Linked DNA regions of Homo sapiens: region 2 is linked to region 1. The links are contacts of gene promoters, found by promoter capture Hi-C in blood cells and fetal thymus (Javierre and others, 2016). All regions are on one chromosome and are shown on one strand. Each heading gives the region's core, a stretch centred on a gene start or on the middle of the fragment in contact. The rest is flanking DNA. Distances are from core to core; before and after follow the strand shown. Region 1 holds the start of RRH (retinal pigment epithelium-derived rhodopsin homolog). Region 2 holds the start of EGF (epidermal growth factor).

The links. The method cuts DNA at HindIII sites, captures the fragments that hold promoters and counts their contacts. A CHiCAGO score of 5 or more calls a contact.
Region 2: a contact is called between the fragment with the promoter of EGF here and the fragment with the promoter of RRH in region 1, in 1 of 17 cell types (megakaryocytes). The highest score is 5.3, in megakaryocytes.

What each region holds. Positions count from the first base shown.
Region 1 is chr4:109,825,683-109,832,149 of GRCh38, reverse strand. It overlaps RRH (retinal pigment epithelium-derived rhodopsin homolog), which reads right to left and starts at 4,178. Exons shown (of 7, transcript NM_006583.5): 1 at 4,017-4,178. The coding sequence starts at 4,122. The HindIII fragment of the contact is 4,893 bases long and covers 1-4,328 here.
Region 2 is chr4:109,909,251-109,915,717 of GRCh38, reverse strand. EGF (epidermal growth factor) reads right to left here and starts at 2,835. Exons shown (of 24, transcript NM_001963.6): 1 at 2,256-2,835. The coding sequence starts at 2,382. The HindIII fragment of the contact is 2,188 bases long and covers 1,986-4,173 here.

The DNA.
Region 1 (6,467 bases), core at 2,929-5,428:
TTTCATCCAAGAAGCTAGAATCATTACTGGATTGTTAGAGACTAAAGGAGGGTTGTGCAACAAGCAGGAATAGAGTTGAGTTCCCCATCAAGAAAAGAATTACTTGGTGATCAATCCCCAACTATTGTCAGAGAGGGACAGTTTCCAAGCACCAACATACAACATCAGCTCAGTAAAAACTTTTAACATATCTTGGCACTTCAGTCAGAACTTCTGCCTTAGCCTGTTAAACTAACCTTCCAGATTCCTGTTCTTTTCCTCTCCTTGCTTCTGGCAGAATCAGCTTGCTATAACATAGACTTAACCATGGTTCTTCTCCTCCCGAAAACTTGTAGTATTTCCCACTGGCTGTGGGATAACAATCCAAATTTCCCAACCTGATATTCCAGGCTCTTTGCCTCATCTGTTGTCACTCTCTAGAAGCAAATTTCTACACTTGTCAAGTGAACTCTCCATTCTAGTTTTTGCCCAGATACACCATGCTTGACTCATATTTCTCCCACTTGGAGCACCCTGCTCCTTCTCTTTTCCTATCCAAATGCCATCCATCCTTCAAACTTCAGTTCAAGCCCCTAAGCCTTATCCTACCCACACTATCCTCTCCTCCCTAAATTTCCAAACTACTTGCTTATGATTAACTGAGTCTTATGTAACACTATATAATTTAACTGTTACTTTTCCTTGTCTTTTCATGTGGATTTCAGGCTCCTCATGATTTCTGTGGTTTTTGAATACGTGACATACAGCAGATTTATTTAATAAGTGGGCTACAACTAAAACCCATATTGCTTAATTTCTATCATTCCTTCAAGATAATTAGCACACAATGACAGCAAATTTGATGATTCTTTGGCCCTATTTTTAGCATCTAGGATTGTAGCATGTATACAAGATATACTCCGAAGAATTTAATGAAATGAAGACTCTTTCTGGGCTAGCTACAAATTCAATGACTTTTTAAAGTTAGATAAAAACAGTGCAGTAAATTGCTGCCTACCAAGTACGCAACCAGAATAAAGGAACTATAATTCTGGGAGTCTTAGAAATAATGGGGGTTATGAACTAAACAGTTTAGCCCTTTTCTCTATTCTCTCTGCAGCTGTACCAAGCACACTGCCTTGTTTCCACAGCTGTAGGTCTTCTAATGAGTATACAAAAGATCACCTAGTTGTTAGATTTTAGTTAAGTCCCATTTCACAGTCAGTCTAAACACTAAGTAGCACTTGATGTTGATTTCTCCTTCACTCTTGAAACATTTTCCTTCTTGTCTTCCGTGACTTCCGTGCAATCTCTTCAACAGACCCTTCTTGATCTACTTCCTGGCCTTTCTTTCTCCATCTATGTCTTATTAAATATGTGCATTGTCCAACCTTCTGTCCTAGATCCCTTTCTTTTCACATTTAACACATACTCTGAGTAATTTCTTCATACCCAAGGCTATACCCTGATATTTTTCAGCCTCCGGACACTCAAACCCATGTGTCCAGCTTTTTATTGGACACCTCTCAAACTGAACTGAGAGACTTTTTCTCCTGCCTCAAACCTGTTCTTCCCCAGGTGTGTTCCCATCTGATGAAGAGCATCACCATCTATTCAGTGGCTCAAAAAAGAAACCTAGGCATCATCTTTGATACTTCTCTCCTTCTCCCACAATCCCAACATCCAATCATCAATTCCACCTTCTGGCTCTTGAATGTATCTACTTTTTTCTGTCCCCACTGCGATTACTCCCTCCTCAGAATCACTGCAATGGCCTCCTATGTGGTCCCTTAGCTACCACTATAGCACATTTCTAAAACACAAATCAGATCATGTCACTCCCATTTCAAACCCTTCAGTGACTCCCTGTCACCTTTAAAACTTACACGGCTCATCACTGTCTGGTACTCAGCCATCTTTTTCAACCTCTCACCCTTCATTTTACAGTTCAAACATAATGATTTATTTCAGATCCTCAAATTCACCATGTCCTCTTACCTCCCAGCCTTAACTGGGGAAAGGGAGAGTGCTCAAGGACACTAAATTAACAAAATGTCTGTTGCACTGGAAGTTGTAACAGTTTATAGGAGCCAAACTATAAATGAAAGATCAAATTAAAAATTAAATAAAAAATCTAAATAGGCCCTTGGTAAAAGTAACGAATGAAATAAATGCTTTCACTACACCCTTTCCTCATAGTTTTGGTTTTGATTTGCAACTTTAAGTGAGTTTTGTTAAAGGAGGAAAGTTAGGGGATCTAAAGAAAAATAGATGCTTGATACAGGGGCAGAACAAAAGCATAAAGAGTTCAGCTATGCTTCCTTCAGTGGATCCACCAGAAACACAAACAACACACACTCATTGTATACCTTGATAAAGCTGACTCTTGGATTTATATGTGAGGGCTCTAGAACCAAAATGCCTGGGTTCAAATCCTGGTGTAGCTGCTTAGTAAATGTGTGTGCTGGACAAGTTTCTTAAGCTCTTCATCTGTATAAACTAGAGAAATAAAACTGAAGAGTAACTTACTAAATTAGTGTAAGGATGAATTATTCTGTATGTGTAAGGTTTTAGAACAGTGCTTGGTATATAGCAAGTATTCAAATGATAACATTAGTAGCAGTAGTAGTAAGATTACTATTATTATTACTGTTACAGAGATAAGAACTAAATAGAATATTTTCTGCATGCTAATTTTGTAACCAGGTCAAAAAAGGATAGTTTTGGTTGTTTTTTGGATTTTTTTTTTTTTTGGTCATCTACAAATAACTAACTAAACCAAACACTTGTATACAAAGTATTTCCATGTAATTGTTAGGAGATTTTCTCAGTCTTTTTTGCAATTACAAAAAAACTAGAACTTGTCTAGTACTTATCATAGAGGTATTCAAATGAACGAGATAACGTCACTAAAATCGCAAAACTTAACTGAGGAACTCAATTTCCAGTACTAGAAGTAATACGCTGAATTATAAGGAAGAAACGTAAACAATTATAAACTGGGTATAGGATGGTGTGTTATACTTTTCACTCTACTTTTGAATGTTTGAAAATTTTTATAAAAGTCAATCCAAAAAATAATGAACTCAATATAAGAGTTACTTCTACAACTCGTTAGAGTATAAAGTTGAAAATTAAGTGATTGCTCAATATAAAAGTTACACAATTCAATGATACATTAAAAAGATAAAAAGTTTCTGTCATTCCCCCATCCCTTTTTTTCTGCAAACAATCCTTTACATCAATGAGTGTGTAGGGAGGAAAGGGAAAAAGAAACAAATATTTGTCCAACACCTACTATATGGCATTTATGTGTCACTTAATTTTACTCCTTATAACAATCATGACAGATAACTTATTCTTATCCTTGTTTTACAGATGAGAAAATGGAAGAACAAAAAGGGAAGATACATGCTCACAGTTGCAAATATACTAAAAGATGAAATCCAAAACTCAAGAGTTTTCCAATAAGCATTCTGGAACAAGCTGAATTTTCAGACTCTGTCCTCAATGACAATATACCCTGCTCTGTCTTCTTAGGACTTTTTCTTTCCAGAACCTTTAAGTTCTTAGCTAAATTCTACCACCAAGAACAAAAATATGAGGGTTATGTATAAGAATAGTAAATGACATAAAAATATGTTTTTGCCATGGTGCATACTCTTCTCCAATAAAAACTTTAACAATCCAATAATCAAATACATAGATTTTTATGAAAGAACTATTTATCACATAGAAAACTTTTCTCAGCCCCACTTCACTGCTCTTATTTACCAAAATTCAAAATAACCTGTGGCAATGGCCATCACTAACAATGCTTTCCCTTATTCTTTCACCCACATTATCTTATTTGATCTTTACAGCCCAGAAATAGAGTATCATCATCCTCATTTACCAACGAGCAAGCCAAGTCAGGATAAATGACTTGTCAAGGTTGGCCAATAATATGGAACTTGAAACAATGCATGCCTTATGCTGAAAACTTCTGCCTTTCTTCACCCATTCTAAAGAAAAATAACTTACTTAAATATCCATACCTGCCATAATCAAGTAAGTTGCAACAATATTGTGTTCAGTCTGTGAAAAGACCGAGCCATCTTCATTTTTAGAGTCTGAACTGTTGCCTAAATTATTTCTTAGCATTTTGGAGGGAAGATACCGAAACACCCTTCATAATAAGCCTTCGATAATTATGAACTGCTTTATGAGCTACTGAGGAAAGATTTTTTAGGACCAATCATTTCCACTTAGAGACCTCAAAGAAGGGCCTTTTCATAGAGGCCCTCCCTTAACAAATTTAATTGGGCTAAAGAGGAAAGGACTTTAATTCCCAGAATAAGGGAAAAGCTTATTAGCAAAACAAAAAGAAATACCAAGCACCACACATTTTAACCTATTTGGGCATCAGTCTTCTATCTAAGGAGATTATCAAGCACACACATCCCATTTAACAATAAACAAACTCAGGAAATCAGTATAGGAGCCAGCCTTAGTCCTCTAAAACTATTCGGATTAAGGTCCCTGTTTTCTGTTGACCATTCAAGTCTTTCCATTTCGGCTCCTTTTGTTGTTTTTTTTTTCTTAACAATTTAAATATTAGTGACAAAGAAGTAGTCTCCTTCCTACTTCCAAATCTCACTCTCCTAAAGGTACCAGTATTGTTTGGTGCATATCCTTTCTTAGGCTTTTCTCTGCTTATACACATATTCATACAAGTGTTTCAGGTTTCCTCCACTTTCTTCTTGTAAATAAAAATGAGGGAAAAAAATAAGTACAAATGTATATATATAATGCAACTTGTTTTCCCATAAGGCTGTATTATAATATCCAAGTTAATAAACCCAGAATCTAATAAAGTCTAATTTATTAGTAGCTATGTATTTCATAGCATGGATATAATATGATCAACTCCACCATCCGTTAATTTCCCCTATAGTTTGATATGCACATGAGTAATTAATATTATCTGATGATAGTAATCATTGTATACTTTGCCAGAGTATCTGAATTCAATCACTGATATTGTAAAGTACAGAATAAAAATATTCTGGATTATCACATTACAACCTGAAAACCAACCTGAGCATGTTTTGTTAGAATAATAAGGTATCCCTATTACCTTTTTTCCCATATTCTTTATGCCATTAACATTATTAAAATCTGATTCTCCTCAGTTTCCTAAAATCAGTAAACATTAGAGAAATGCTTAGATGCACCAAAGTTAACAGTGTAAGCATAAAACAGAACCACTAGAGGGCTATATTTACCCACTTAGTTTAATTTTATAAAAATCCTAGAATGGCACAGCAGAAACCTAAGATAATCCTTTTGCTTCAGTTCTCTTGCCTGTGTATAAACTCAAGATGAACAGGTTGATTTATCTGTCCCAAATCTTATAGCTACCAGTACTCACATTTTTATAAATGTAATATTGTTATACCTATACTAGAAAAGCGAATCTCGTCAGTATTGTTTTCAAATGACCCTAGAGCAAAAAACATAATACCCAAGAGGAAATCACTCCCTTTAAAAAGTCTTTGTCTTTTCTTTCATTCAATATGCAAAACAAAACTTAAAATTTTTGAATTTGCTTTGGGTCATACTACCTTCCTTTTCTGTAATAAGTTATACCTAGTTGTAGCATCCATGAAAAATTTTCCAGAAATAATTATTTCTAAGAACTGAAAAATATATAATTTCAGATAGTCAGCTTTCTGCTGCAGATGAAAGTTTTGATATGAGTGAGGTAGGTGCATTTGAAGTTCTTTTTTATGCTTCCTTCATGGGTGATACAGAAAAGCTATATTGGGATAAGGCTTAGAAATACATGTGAATTTGATTCAAAATGAAATGCCTCAAAAAAACCCAGAAACTAGGCCAGGCGCAGTGGCTCACACCTGTAATCCCAGCACTTTGGGAGGCCAAAGCAGGCGGATCACCTGAGGTCAGGAATTCGAGACCAGCCTGACCAACATGGAGAAACCCCATCTCTACTAAAAATACAAAATTAGCCGGGCATGGTGGCGCATGCCTGTAATCCCAGCTACTTGGGAGGCTGAGGCAGGAGAATCGCTTGAACCCGGGAGGTAGAGGTTGCAGTGAGCCGACATTGCACCATTGCACTCCAGCCTGGGCAACAAGAACAAAACTCCGTCTCAAAAAATAATAATAATAAATAAACAAATAAATAAACCCAGAAACTATAAGGAAAAAAAAGGAAAAGATGTGGAAATAAAAGCTTAAAGATGGACAATGAAAAAAAGATATACATAAGCTAAACGGTAAAATTTCCAACTGGTTTGTCTACTGATCTATATGTTATTTCCATTATTGCCATTTTAGATTTATTTTTAATGTTAAAAAAACAAACTGTAGAAATGTTGCGCTATTATTATTTGTCCTTGGGACAATGCCATCACCCTTTGGTGCTTACTAACATCTTTTCCAAACCACGAGCAAAAGCCCTGGCCCTAACACTCCATGAAAAT
Region 2 (6,467 bases), core at 1,586-4,085, 85 kb before region 1:
AAGTAGAATTTAAATGAGGGAAAAATAGATGATGGCACCATATCTATTTAGAGAGGAGAAAGAAATACTATCCTCTGAAATGCACACAGTGACTGACAAAGGGTGACCCAGGCAGTTATCAGCTAACATGAGACCAGGAGCGTAAAGTACGGGATTTAAACCAGTGACTTGCAAGAAATGAGGTAGCAGAGAGGCAGGGAATCCCAAAGTGCCATCCACACATTCCACACTCCATGGATCTGTGCCGTGTCACTGCACTGTTCAAATACGGCATCTCATCGTATGACTTGATCAGAGATTTAGCCAAGACGTGGAGCCCAGGAGGACATTTATTGAGCATACTCTGCTAAGCACCATGCTTTGGTACATGCTAGGTTATCTCATGTGATTCCCCACAAAAAAATCCTAAAAGCAGTGGGCGAGGGTATTATTTCCCAGAGATACTCTAAAGTAACTCAGCTATTAAGTTGGTAGCATGGATATGAAATGAGGCTTGTTTGTTTCTAAAACCTGTGGTTCCTTCCACTCTGTGACACAGTCTCCCCAACTTATTGTTTCTATCCTGGGTTTCATGTTTATTGGGTACAACCTACCTCAATGAAGGCACTTCTGAGCCACCAGAGGTGGCAAGGAAAACAAGGCATAGACTTGCTTGCCAGCAGGAATCAGACTATTCTGAGATCCTAGAGCCATCCATAAAAGCTCATTTTTGTAATTTCTTGGGTTCTGCTTCAGCAACCTGGGTTCTTCTTTCCTAGCTTCTGGCTGCCTGATAGATCGGCCCAACCATCACCCCTCACATCCCATGCAAATGACAGTGCCCAACTCTAGATATTTGCCAACTACTCCACGGAAAATTCTCCCACCCCAAAGAGAGTCCAGTCCATTTGACATAACTGTATACAGAAGTTTTACTTCTGTCTCCAACAGCTGAGTCTGAGGTTCATGGGGCCATTTTTGTCATTTGTCACCCTCTTTTTGTTGCTGTTCTCTAGGACTATGTCATTAGCAGATCAGAGAAAGACGCCTCATTCATACACAAGAATTTGCTGAGTACACACTGTGGAAGCAGGAATGTCCTAGGTGCTGGGAACATAGAGATCACTAGGATTAAGTCTTTATTTCAAATACCCTAGAGTTCTGCTCACCTGTTACAAGGAGTGCTACCTGAGAACAGAGTCCAGAGATTCTGAGCAAAAGCACCTGATTTCCTCATCGGGAACTTCCTTAATGGGAGAGCCAGGACAGCAGCCTAGCTTTGGCAGTTTGGCTCCATTCTGCTCTCTTTATTCAAACTATTGCCTATTGTGTACTGTCTTCCATAGGTGTCTCTTCTGGAAACTGTACTGTGTTTTCCCCCTCAATCTACCTCTTTTTAAAAGCCAGACGCCATCTCAAAAGGGCAAGCTGATAAAAATGGAATGTCGGGGCAGCTATAACCTCTCATCAACAAAGGCGGCTGCCGTGTCTAAGCAGCAGGTTGGAGGCTCACCCAAGGATTAAATAAATGAATTAACAGTTAGAGAGAGAATGTTTTTCAGGCAATATCCTTTGGCAGGATTGTAATTCGCATTCAGTCAAGCTCCCATTTCCCCTTGGCAAAAAATTCATTTAATATGAGAGGACAGTGTGGCTTATTTACCCATTATCATATTTGGCAGTTCTTAAAGTTGCAATGCACCTGTTACTAAAACTCCGGAGTTGTGTCAGAGCCTCAGAAACAGTAAGAGTGGGGAGAAAGTGAAGGAGGTTGAAATTGAAATTTAGGTTAATTTTCACAACTACCTTTGTTCACAGTTCCCTTTCCATTTTTCACTAATTTTTAGAACTTCTGAATTCTTACAAGTTATCAGAAGGAAGGATTTTTTTCTTTGTGGCTTAAGAGTTTCAAACAGACAAACAAAAAATCAACCATCTGTTTCCCTAATTTCCAAGCAATTAGCCAGGTGTTAATTACTCCTCTTGTCAGAGTAAAAGCTGAAGCTTCCATGAAATGTTCTGCTAGTTTAAAATGAGGCATATTCATTCACTTATACACAGAAGTACAGTTTGAGAGTTATGAAGTTTTATAGTTGGTAGCAGATTAGCTCTAATGGCCAGTAAGAAAATAAACATGCATCAGAAAACAAAAATTAAGCAACTATACATACCCAAAGACAAACTTTGTTAAATGCCCAAGTATACCAGATTGAACCAACAGGGATGTGGGGGCAGTTTCCCGGAGACCTGGAGCACCTTTTCATTGGAGTACTTACCCACACAAGTAGAATTCCCATTTCCTGCGAGAGTACCTTCAGGACAGCTCCAGTGCTGCGGTGCTGAGAGACTAACAAAACTAAATTTTGAAACTACTGGCAACAGAATGATAAGAGTGAGCAGCATAATCTTGATGAGTTTGAACTTTCAAAAGAAAACAGCTTGATTTTGCTGGAGCATGGCCCGGGCAAGGTGAGTATGATTGACCCCAGATGCGGCTGCCTGAGCGGAGGCCTCAGCCCTGGGGCATCTTTTACTCTCCTGTTGTGCTGTTGTCCTCCAAGCTCTTTCTTCAACTGAGAGACCTTCTGAATGCAGCCTGCCAAGGGAAGCCACAGGAAAGATTTCTTTATCTATGTTTCTTTGGAAGCCAGTAAGAAATACCTGACACCCTTATGACAAATTTCACAGAGTTTAACAGCCCTGCTCTGGCTGACTTCACTGTGACAGAGCAAGGCAAAGGCTTAGAGAGGAAAAAGAAAGGAAGAACTGATGGAAAGTTCCAGCTACAACCCTTGGATTGGGGCTGAAAGAAGAAATATGGAGATACGATTCCTCTCCCAACAGTTTCTCTTTTTGAAAAGTGGAATGACTCAGCTTTGCTTTTTAAAGCTCTTCAGGCTCCACCTCCTTTCCTTTAGTGACACTTGAGTGAGCCTCTGTTTGCAAATGCGAATGTGGGCAATTCCTCCACACAGGAAAGCAGGGATGACTGCCAAAGAGGAGATAACTCGCTACTCACCATAAATATCCTGGGCAGAACTGGGAGAGAGGAGTTGGGGGCTGTGGAGGTGCTCATGGTGAATGGCGGGAACTGCTAAATATTGGCTATGTTTTAATGTCTGGAAGGATGGAGACAAAATTAAACCATGCAGTATAAATCAATAATAAGCAGCACTGTTGATAGTTTGGATTGATAATAATTGATCATTCACATGAGCAATAGTAAAGATAGTTCACCTTCAGCCCATTATTTGAACGAAATGTCAATACCAGTGCACATTCCAGGAGCTTTATCTTATTTTTCTCTTTCTCCTGTATAGTTTATAGCGGAATTTGAAAGATTATTCTTTCCAAATCAAAGGGAAATCCCTGAGGCCAAATGAAGAGATACAGTATGGACAGACACCTTTTCTTTCAGCATGAGCATGATAAAACATCACGAGGGGCCAGGAGTGCAGAGAAAGGAGTGGATTGTTATTATAGGGACATTGGAAAAAATAAGCTAACAGTGCAAAGCTGGGAAGCACTGGAAATCCAGCACAGAGGAATGCTTTTCCTTCTAAGATAATTTAGGCTTTTTTTTTTTCACATCTCTGTGATAGAAAATAAGAACTGGACGTATCTGTTAGCTGTCTCCTCAACCACTTTCTACTTGGAGCAACAGTGGTTATTTCTTCAGGAGTACAACTAGGGCCCAAAAATACCCAGAAGGCAAACAACTTATAGCAGATTTGATGCACGATGGAAATTTCTGTCAGTTTACTCCATCCTGGAAAATGGACTTTCATTTAAGTTACCCTGAGGTAGTGTTCCAAGTGCTGGTCAAAAATGTACGTAAAAGCAATAGTCACAAAAACAACTGTCACACTAGTGAACACCCCATTACAGAGGAGAACAGACTAACTCTAAGCCTTTTACTCATACTTAATTATGTCCTGATTATTCTCCAAAGACTGGATCACTTTCCTGAAACAGCTTAAGTCAGGATTTCTCCTATTTCAGCCAGCCTCTGCCAGGCAGCTCTGAACCCTTACAGGAGAAACAGACCCTGGGGAAGGGGGAAAGAGAAGTCCTTTAGGTGGTTATGCGGAATATTCCATTGCTTTCTGGACTGAGTCAGACTCAAGACTCATAATGAGCATCCTACAAATAACCTGCACTGACTCTTCGAGTTACTAACTTTATTAATAAGCTTCCCTTTCAGCACAATACATTGCCAGCATCCCAGATGACAGCAATGGAAGGGGCTTAGAGGACAATCAAGCATCACGCTGTGTCAGTGGAGTGGAGTGGAGAGAATGATATGAAGACAAACATGAAATGATCCACAGCTCTGTTCTGTTTGGATTTGGAATCTCTCATATTATTTTTGGTTGGAAAAAGGTTTGCTTTCTTAATTACATGTCACCTGGGCTAATGTTGTCATTAATGTTGAGTACAAGCTCCCTAGGAGATGACGGAGTCAACAGAGGTATAGCAGATGCTATGGCTGATGACTGATGATGAAAATCAATCGCAGCTAATTCATCATCTACAGTTGCCCAGATAGCAAAATCATAGGACAGAGCTACCCAACTGGGAAGGATTTACAGAGATATTTAATAAGTTTATATTCCAGCCGGGCGTGGTGGCTCATGCCTGTAATCCCAGCACTTTGGGAGGCCAAGGTGGGCAGATCACACTTCAGGAGATCTAGACCATCCTGGCTAACACGGTGAAACCCCATCTCTACTAAAAATACAAAAAGTTAGCCAGGCGTGGTGGCACATGCCTATAGTCCCAGCTACTCATGAGGCTGAGGCAGGAGAATTGCTTGAACCCAGGAGGCGGAGGTTGCAGTGAGCCGATAACACGCCACTGCACTCCAGCCTGGGTGACAGAGCAAGACTCTATCTCAAAAAAATAAATAAATAAATAAATAATAAGTTTATGTTCCTACTTCTGGATAAAACTGAACCTTTCTTGCACTCAAGAAAGGTTGAAATAAACTCTTTATTTTAAAATTGATAAGAAATGCACTATAACTTATAGGTTTGAGCTGCCAAATATGATTTAATTTCTGGAATTGAGTTAAAGTTAACTAATTCATTCGTTAATTAAACAGCTATATATGATAGAGCACTGCCTGGAGTACAAGAAACAGAAGTCGTAGTCCTTAACATCAAGAGCTTGCTGAGGTTGATTAACAGCAACAACAGAGAGTATGAGTATGAGCTAATGAATGACCAGCCACCAAGTACATGACTGGTCACAAACTGGGTGTCAGGAAAGAAGGAGGGGAGCTGCAATGTACTTTGGACTACAGCATGCAGTGTGAAGCTCTGTGGAGTAATTAGGATGCCTCAGAAGGACATAGAGAAGGAGAAGGGTCATGCTGACAGGATGTGGAACAGGAATGGACAAAAATTTTTTTTCTTATTTAATAGTTCCTTAGATCCTGAAGGGACACAGCTGGGTGGGGGAAACCCTGCTGGTAGGTCAGTAAGAAAGTTAGACATTAATAGCAAGGAGATAGCTCTGAATGGTTATAAGTGTGAGTGGACAGCAATAGCTGGAAGGGACTATTGGGACATATGTTTATGTGTGCTTGTCATAAAATTCTAACTTTTCCGATGAAATTTCCTCATTGAAACACAGGGCACCTAGTTCTCCTGGGTTATGTATTTACTGTGCTCAGCACCTCTTACTAATCATTGCCACCGCCACACCATCAACAGATTACTTCCTTAATTACAGCATGTCTCCTCATCATTCTCCCAGGTATTTTAGTTTCTAAAAATGTAAAGGTTTAGGGAAAGAATTCTGGATTTCCCAAAACAATCTTTCCCTACCCTTCAGTTCTGCTCAACCTATGAGAAGTAGAGTACCATTAAATGAAGAGCACTTCAAGTGCTCTACAAGGCTTGACAAGAGAACTAAAGATACTGTAAAATGCATATAATGAAACACTACTTGCTGGAAGTAATGAAAATGCAAACCACTATTTGCAGCTCTTATTATATGTATAAAACTGTGAATCAGGCAGGGCACGGTGGCTCACGCCTGTAATCCCAACACTTTGGGAGGCTGAGGTGGGTGGATCACAAGGTCAGAAGTTCAAGACCAGCCTGGCCAATATGGTGAAACTCCATCTCTACTAAAAATACAAAACAAAACAAAAAACTGTGAATTAGTATCCTCTTTGCTTGCCACTCAAAACTGGAAAGATGTATAAAATAGATGGTGGAGAGAAAATATTTGAGTTGGTGACATATGGATTATTTCAATTTTAAATACCAGAGAAACAAAATAAATTAAGTTGCTTTCCTTTGGTTTTCCCAGCCTGATTTCTAATTAAGATGCATTCTTTTTCATTTTCATTAAAGTAAAATTTATATAAAGTGAACAGATCTTAAGTGTACAATCTGATGAGTTGTGATAAATGTATATATACACTTCATCAATACCTCAAACTGTCTTTTAAAAAACACCATTTTTGGTAGAAATTT